Regions from separate parts of the Homo sapiens genome. Here region 2 is linked to region 1. The links are contacts of gene promoters, found by promoter capture Hi-C in human tissues and cell types (Jung and others, 2019). All regions are on one chromosome and are shown on one strand. The core of a region is centred on a gene start or on the middle of the fragment in contact, and the rest is flanking DNA. Distances in the headings are between cores, read along the strand shown.

What was found. The method cuts DNA at HindIII sites, captures the fragments that hold promoters and counts their contacts. A contact is called where the count stands out against the background at its distance.
Region 2: a contact is called between a fragment that was not itself captured here and the fragment with the promoter of OR6C3 in region 1, in 9 of the 25 tissues and cell types used here (H1 embryonic stem cells, adrenal gland, heart left ventricle and 6 more).

What each region holds. Positions count from the first base shown.
Region 1 is chr12:55,328,237-55,332,680 of GRCh38, reverse strand. OR6C3 (olfactory receptor family 6 subfamily C member 3) reads right to left here and starts at 1,935. Exons shown (of 2, transcript NM_001388498.1): 1 at 1,874-1,935; 2 at 45-1,024. The coding sequence starts at 980. The coding sequence ends at 45. The HindIII fragment of the contact is 15,026 bases long and covers 1-4,444 here.
Region 2 is chr12:55,288,061-55,292,504 of GRCh38, reverse strand. No RefSeq gene overlaps it. Among named protein-coding and RNA genes, the nearest start is that of OR6C6, 6.3 kb to the left of the region's middle. The HindIII fragment of the contact is 6,606 bases long and covers 1-4,444 here.

The sequences.
Region 1 (4,444 bases), core at 686-3,185:
GCTTAATTGTTTTTTTAAAGTGCTCTTTATTTTTGACCAAAAATTCATTGATTTGCATAAAACACAACTTTGTGGACCACATTTTTGAAGGCTTGTTTTACTTGCTGGTTTCTCAGAGTGTAAATGAAGGGGTTCAGCATGGGGGCAACAGATGTATTGAGAATAGCTATTCCTTTTGTCAATGATGCCTTTTCTTTTGCAGATGGATTAGCATACATGAATATACAGCTTCCATAAGAAATGGAAATGACAATCATGTGAGAAGAACAAGTGGAGAAAGCCTTTTTTCTTTGACTGGCAGACGGGATTCTCAAAATGGTCCTGATAATGTACATGTAAGATAAAATCACTAATGCCAAAGTGAACAGCAAAGTAACCAAAGCAAAGTAAAAACCAATTACTTCTAGGAGCCATGTATCTGAACAAGATAGTTGTAAGAGGGGAAAATAGTCACATGCAAAGTGATCAATGACGTTGGAAGCACAGTAATCCAGCTGGAGGAGAAGCATAAGGGGTGGGAAAATGGTCAGAAACCCACTTAGCCAGGCACACAGCACAAGTAGAGTGCAGAGTTTCCTGTTCATGATGGATGTGTAATGAAGGGGCTTGCAGATGGCAACATAGCGGTCATAGGACATGGCAGTTAAAATGTAAAATTCAGTCACCCCCATGAAGATAAAGAAAAAGAGTTGGGCTGCACAGTTGTTATAGGAAATAGTCTTATTCCTGGTGATAATTGCCCCCAGAAATCTGGGGATGCATACGGTTGTAAATGAGATTTCTAAGAAAGAGAAGTTCCGGAGGAAGAAATACATAGGTGTCTGCAGATGGGAGTCCACAAAGGTTAGGGTGATGATAGTCAGGTTTCCAGTAACACTTAATATATACGTGATAAATAAAAAGAGAAAAATCACAATCTGAAGGTCAGGATCATCAGAAAGGCCCAGGAGGACAAACTCTGTGACCATTGTGTGGTTCATGTCTCGTCCTTTCTCTCTCTCCTTCTTCCACTCTCCTTTTTGTTCTTTTAAAGATATTTTGGTAGAATGATAATTAAGGAAAATAGATAAAAGATATAATTCATCATGATCCATATAATTATCAATACAATTCTAAAAATCTTCTACAGTCTGACAGTTTTGACTATCTTGTTTGCATTATGTTTTAATATTTTTTTCTAAGTCCAGCCTATTTACTAGTTCTCTTACTTTAAATCTAACAGAAATTAGGATATCTTCAGACAATAAGCCACATCACTGAGAAACAGCTAATAAAATGTATAATACCTGCTTTGTGTCCCATTAATGCAAAATATCATTATCTTTTTTGTTGAAACAATCACATGAAACATACATTTTTCTTTTTTTCATCATGTATACATTAAAGGATATTACCACCTAAACATAAAATGGGTGCTCTTAACTTCATCAAAAGATAAAAGTGAAAATTAGAAGATTGTTAATAACCCATTATTCTTTTTATGATATGAGAAACCAATTAAAGATTTTTAGCAAATAAAACATATATTTATATTAAAATAATGTTATTTTATTTATTCATTTTATTTTTAATATTAATATTTTGGTCTAATTGTCAAGATAATAGAACATCTTATATATGATGTATATTTACTATAAGATAGAGTAAATAATGTAATTATTTTACTCAACAAATAGGGAACATGTTCGCTTACTTATTGGTTTGTCTTATAATTCCATCAAAATCTTTAATGTTTGATGTCTTCTATGACTCACAAGAAATGTGTATATATATTCTACATACAGACATTTTAATTTTGAGCTTAAGGGAACATGTGATATTTATCTATTTTTCATTTTGCTCTGAAGCATAAATTGGAAAAGTAACTACTTGCCTTAGATCTCAGCAACTCTCTCACTTGGATTATAGCTTAGTGCATCTTCCATTTGAACATCTTCCTTTCAGAGCTTTACGGAAAAAGTTTTATTTCCTAGTAAATTTTGTCCCACATAAGACCATTCTTCCTTATGCAACCATTCATTCATAAGGATATCCAGAATTGTATAGGAAACCCTCTCACATTCATTCTAACCTAGTCAGTTAATTTTCAGCTATTCAAGAACTGCTGGATGTTCTATTCTATAGATGTTGTCTGCTAAAATCCTGATAGTTGTCTCCTCCATATTTTAGATTGTCAAATTTCTGCTATGATGGATAGAATGTAAAATTATTGCTTCTCTTCTGGACACTACCAAAGTTCACACTAATCAAATTTTATTTTATGTTTTTCTCTATTTTATAATGGTTTAAGGGATATATTTCAGGAAATAAAAATGGAATGCCAGAAACCTTTGGAAGATGTGGAAATACATTATATTCCTCTTCAATAATGTTGAACTAGAAGTTCAAAAAAAATTTATTCCTCTTCAATAATGTTGAGCTAGAAGTTAAAAAAAAATTTAAAGAGAAAATAGGTAAATATATGACACATTGGATATTATGAGTTAGATTCTGGTATCTGGGTTCCCCCTGGTCATACTTATATCTACAATATTTCAAGTTTCTTTGTTTTGACCTCAAAAGATTTGATCTCCTGGGAACAAAGCAAAGTCCAGGCCACATCTCTGCTGTATTATAGACCATGAAAGATTTCTGGAAGTCGCCTTTGGATTTCTCAGTAGCCTCCTAACTCTTATCTGTAGTCGATCTCCCTTGAGAGCAGTTAGGTTCATCTTTTAGCCCACAGAGGACCTCAAATATTGTCTTCTGTGGAATATTTACTTCCATTAACTGCAATTAATATATTATGCATACTTAATATTTCATAAGTAATAAAAATAGCTATGACATCTATTTTCTTACAAAACTAAAGCTCAATCTAATTGATATTTAAGCATCTTTTTGAGATTAAAAAAGTTTTCTACATATCCCATTTTTGTTTTTTATACTTAGGCTTTGTTAAGTGTTAGGGCATCAAGAAGCAAAAGGTTATTTCATAATGCTAAGTAAAGAATAACTATCATAATGCAAGTATTGTGCTCACAAGTTTTTTAAAAATGCTATCAGGTTAACTAATTCAATTATCATTATAAATTGCAATATTTAATTGCAGTGTCAATTTGTCCATCTTATTGTTTATCTTGGCCTTTACATCTGTTATCCCTTCAACATTCTAATAAAAAGACCCACAAAATATGATTTTATTTATGTGAAATTCTGGTTTGTGAATTATAACTAATTATTCTCTTTAGTGTTCTTTTTATGTTTCCCAAATATTTTGGCAAAAAAAAGTGTAATCAGATAAGCCATTTATTTAACATATAATTTATTTAAACTAATAGTGCATATTATATAATACAGATTAACACAAAATAAGCATTATGTTTTAATAAAATTATGAAATATGTATTTAATGTATAAAAATACAATAAATTTATACAATCAAATAATGTTTTATTTTTTCTTTTCCAGCTTTATTGGGGTATAATTTAGAAATCAAAAATAGTATATACTTAAGATGTATTTTACTCTTATAAAGGAGCATTTAATAAAGGAACATTTTGGCAGATATGTTTCCATATCATAGGGAGTGTTACCCTTAATCACTTAATTTTTGTTGATCACTTTTCTGGCTATTATAAAAATGATGTTATGTTTTCATTATAACAGCTCAATTAATAAGCAGGAAATTCTATCATTATTCATGGAGGGAAAAGTGCAATAATGCCTTGCTTGATTGCATCCTTGTCATATTGATATCCTGTTGTTGCTATTTAGATGTAAAGGCTTAATTGAGGTTTAGGTTTAGGTTTTTTTTTCCTTTCAAAACTAATCCAAAAAGGAATTTTATACTTTCAACAGAGATACATGTTTAATTGATTAAAAAAATAATTAGCAGCTATTGGTGTAACCGCCCAATGGGTTCACCTTGCTGCTGCCTAGACAGAGCCGATTTATCAAGACAGGAGAACTGCAATAGAGAAAGAATGAATCCTGTAATTCATGCAGAGCTGGCAGTGCAGGAGACCCCACTTTTATTATTACTCAAATTAGTCTCCCCGAGGATTCGGGGATCAGAGGTGTTTTGTTGTTGTTGTTGTTGTTTGAGACAGTCTCACTGTCGCCCAGGCTGGAGTGCAGTGCGATGATCCTGAGATCATGCCACTGCAACCTCTGCCTCCCAGATTCAAGCGATTCTCCTGCCTCAGCCTCCTGAGTAGCTGGGACTACAGGCATGCACCACGGTGCCCGGCTAATTTTTGCATTTGTTGTAGAGACTGGGTCTCACCACATTGGCCAGGCAGGTCTCAAACTCCTGGCCTCAGGTGATCCGCCTGCCTTGGTCTCCCAAGGTGTGGGAATCAGTTTTTAAAGATAACTCGGTGGGTGGGGAAAAGCTAGTGAGCAGGGAGTGCTGATTGGTCAGGACCTAGATGAACTCACAGGGAGTCGAAGCTGTTTTCTT
Region 2 (4,444 bases), core at 1,412-3,911, 41 kb after region 1:
GGTTTGACTGTCAAGAATCACCCAGATCAGGGGTGTCCAATCTTTTGGCTTTCCTGGGCCACAGTGGAAGAAGAAGAATTGTCTTGGGCCACACATAAAACACACTAACACTAATGACAGCTGATGAAGTTTAAAATAATCACAAAAACATCTCACAATGTTCTAAGAAAGTTTACAAATTGATGTTGGGCCACATTCAAAGCTGTCCTGTGCCACATATGGCCCATGGGCTGTGAGTTGGACAAGCTTGACCTAGATATTTTGTAAATGTAATTTCGAGTTATCATTTTTACTGCTTCTGAGTCAGTATTTCTGGGATAGAGTTAATGTAGCCTATGTTTAATATGCACCCCAGGAGGCTGGGTGCGGTGGCTCACACTTGTAATCCCAGTACTTTGGGAGGCTGAGGTGGGTGGATCACGAGGTCAGGAGTTCAAGACCAGCCTGGCCAACATGGTGAAATCCCGTCTGTACTAAAAAATACAAAAAAATTAGCTGGGCTTGGTGGTGGACACCTGTAATCCCAGCTACTCAGGAGGCTGAGGCAGATAATTGCTTGAACCCGGGAGGTGGAGGTTGCAGTGAGCTGAGATCACACCACTGCACTCCAGCCTGGGTGACAAAGTGAGACTCCCATCTCAAAAAAAAAAAAAAAAAAAGCACCCCAGGTTATTGTAGATAACCTGCATGTTAAATGTCAAGTAAAGGCTACAATCTCATTGACATTTCCAACTAGACAGAAGTCATTGAAAGTGTATTTAAGATGAAAAATTTAATGTTAACTTCTTGTTTTTAGGGAGATTACTCTTGGAAATGATATGGAATATGGGGTGTCTTATTATCAGGGTGCAGGTGAGGGGGCCTTTGTTTTAAACTATTTATAAATTTTAAATCTTAGTGTATAAATGTGACAGTGGGACTAGAATACAGGTAAAGAGTCAAAGATATTTACAAGAAAGAAATTAGATATTTTAATAAACTTTTGGATTGTGAGTATAATTCAATGGGAGGGTTTGGGTTTAATTCTCTATTTTCACTCCCAACCACATATACAGTAAATGATTTTAAGGAAGTTCATTTTACTCCACAGCATACAGCAATTCTGACTATTGCATTTTGGTTTTGAATTAAGATAATCCTTTCATGTCCTTCAGATAAACAATTTGCCCACAAGTTTTAATCTTATTATATTCATGCATCTGGATAAAAACAGTGTGGGGAGAGATAAGGAGAGAGAGAAAGAGAAGAGAGTGTGAGAGAGACACAGAGGGAGAGAGAGAGAGAGAGATTTGATCCCAACTAAACGAGATTTATTTTTTTCAGGAGTTCTGAAACAACCTAATACTTAGACATTAATTCTTCTCATTCTGTATACAAATCTCATCTCCACTTTCTGAAAATCTAGACTATATCTTCATAATATAAAATTGTAGTATCACTTGATTTTCAGTCTGAAAGTATCCTTCCATGTATTCATTTATCTCTGAGGAAACTCAGGACCCATGATCTCAGATAGCTTTCCTCAGATAATGTAATTGGTTAATGGTGTAAGACTTTCATCCCCAGGACCATAATTGTGTCATTTTCATCACCATTTTCATCTTTTTTTGTCATTGTCATCATTGTCATCATTGTCATGATCACATATCTAAGACATTCAAATGTATGAACAGAACTGATTTATATTTCTTATTGACGTAGGAATGTTATTATCATCTTTATTCATTCTCTGGTTTCCTGTATGTAGACAAAAGCAGGCAAAAGCTATTCTTGTTTACCACAGTACTATATCAAATCTTAGTTTATGTTCAATTCCTTTATTTTACCACTCAGTTTTAATAATGCATTGCTAACAAATTATGAAGTGATAGCTATGATACCATCTTAAGCATGTAGATGACAGTTAATAAAGTATTTTTATGGTTCTGTTTCAATCAAATAGGCACCTTGAAAATTAAGAAAAAATTAAATATTCAGTTGTAATGTTTCTAATGATTCCAAATATAACTTTTTTCATATAACAAATTATCTGTTTTGAAAGGGAATGGTTATTGTACAAAATCAAAATTGCTGAGAATGAAAGCATTAATAGCAGATGATCTGTAATTCTCTCACTCTATCCTTGATGATGCATGAGGTAGTTTTGATTTAGATTAGACCTTGCAAATGCTCAGATAGAATTTACTAGTTGAAAGACAACCAGCTACTTGGGAGGCTGAGCCATGAGAATAGCTTGAATCCGGGAGGTGGAGGCTGCAGTAAGCTGAGATTGCATCACTGCACTCCAGCCTGGGTGACAGAGCAAGATCCTGTCTCAAAAAAAAAAAAAGAAACTGTTAACATAGGCAGTAGTACAGACGAATCTCAAAATAATTAGGCTGGGTGAAAGAAGCCTAGTCAAAAAGAATACTGCATTATTCTATTCCTATAACATTCTAGAAAATGTGATAGTAAATAGAAATGTAATCTACAGTGACATAAAGCAGGTAAGTGATTCCTGAAGTATAGTGACAGAGGTATAGTAAGCAGGGATACAATGTTGCATTAGGAAACTTTTGGTAGTGCTGGATATGTTCAATATTGTACTTGCAGTGATGATTTCAGCTTTATATAATTCTTAGAAAATATAAAATAAGGCTGGGCACTGTGGTTCACACCTGTAATCCCAGCGCTTTGGGAGGCCAAGGTGGGTAGATCATTTGAGGCCAGGGGTTTGAGACCAGCCTGGGCAACATGGCAAACCCAGTCTTTACTAAAAACAGAAAAATTAGCCGGGTGTGGTAGTGCACGCCTGTAATCCCAGCTACTTCAGAGGCTGAGGCAGGAGAATCACTTGAACCTGGGAGGCGGAGGTTGCAGTTCATGCACGTTGAGATTGTGTCACTGCACTCTAGCCTGGGCAACAGAGCGAGATTCTGTCTCAAAAAAAAAAAAAAAAAGAAAGAAAGAAAATATAAAATATTTTACACGTGTCGAAGCTTATATTGTATACTTTAAATCTATGCAGTTTCTTCCATACCACCTCAATAAAGCTTTTAAAATGTGTATTGACTCAAAATGAATCACTTTGCTGAATAAATACTGCATATAATAAATATGTGCTTTTTGTATATAAGACCCAATGGTTTTATAAAATTGTTATGAAAACAAATCTAGAGTTGTTCCTTATCAACACAATGCCATTAAAACCACTGGTTAATATAAGGTTTATCTCAAAGTCTTTTTCTCAATTCTAGTTCCTTTTCTACATAGCAAATTTATGTTAAGTAATTCTGATCATGGGAAATAATGCAGTCTTCTCCTTGAGCAGCACTAGTGTGGGTCAGCACATTCAATCATTCAGCAAGCTTCCAGCCAGGAAAAGAACAATTTCTTTGTGTAGGTATTTCAACTTGGCTTCAGGAAGGTAATCGAACCACATTTTTTCTTTTCTCTATCCCACTCCTCTCGTTTCTGGTTTTAAGATCAATACTTCCAGCTCTTTGTAAGCATGACATAAATGCATCTACTTCCAGTTGTTGGTGACAGTCTTTAGAATGGCATACAATGCCTTATATTTTGAACGTTTATAGCAATTCATGAGCAATATGAAATTCTCATTTAATATCCAAATTTGCAAGCTACTTTTATTTATTACCAAAATTGTGATTACTAGTATTATCACTGAATGATTCCGAGACTCTTAAATTATTAAAAATGTTTTTTTTTCCATGTTCTACTCCTAGAGTCCTATTTTCCATTTCTTCTGAAAGCTTCATCTTTAGGTATTTCACACCCCACTACCCCTGAAAACAACATTATTGTTTTGATGATTAAAAGAGTAATCCTGCATTGAAACATTGTATTCATTTATAAGGGTCTCACTATTAAAATTAGTTAAAGTATAACTACAGAGAATGTTAAAAAGTCTGCCTGGCTGGGCCCCGTGGCTCACACCTGTAATCCCAGCACTTTGGGAGTCTGAGGCAGGTGGATTGCCTGAGGTCAGGAGTTTGAGACCAGTCTGGCCAACATGGTGAAACCCCGTCTTTACTAAAAATATACACAAAAAATTAGCCGGGCGTGGTGGCTTGCGCCTGTGATCGCAGCTACTCAAGAAGCTGAGGCAGGGGAATTGCTTGAACCAGGGAGGTGGAGGTTGCAGCGAGCCGAGATACCACCACTACACTCCAGCCTGGGTGACAGGGCGAGACTCCATCTTAAAAAAAAAAAAAAAGAAAAGAAAAAAGAAAAAAGAAAAAAAGAAGTCCGCCTATAGTCTGTAATCAGTGAAACTATAAACACTTAATTGGGGATAAATTGAATCCAAATTTGGATTCAACTGTAAAAACGGCAACCCATTTTGGCCTCCTTTTTACTGTGGAGAACTTTTTTTTGCTTATTAAGCTTTCGCTCCAACCTCACCCTTGTGTCCACACTTATTAATTTTCTTGGTTGTGAGACA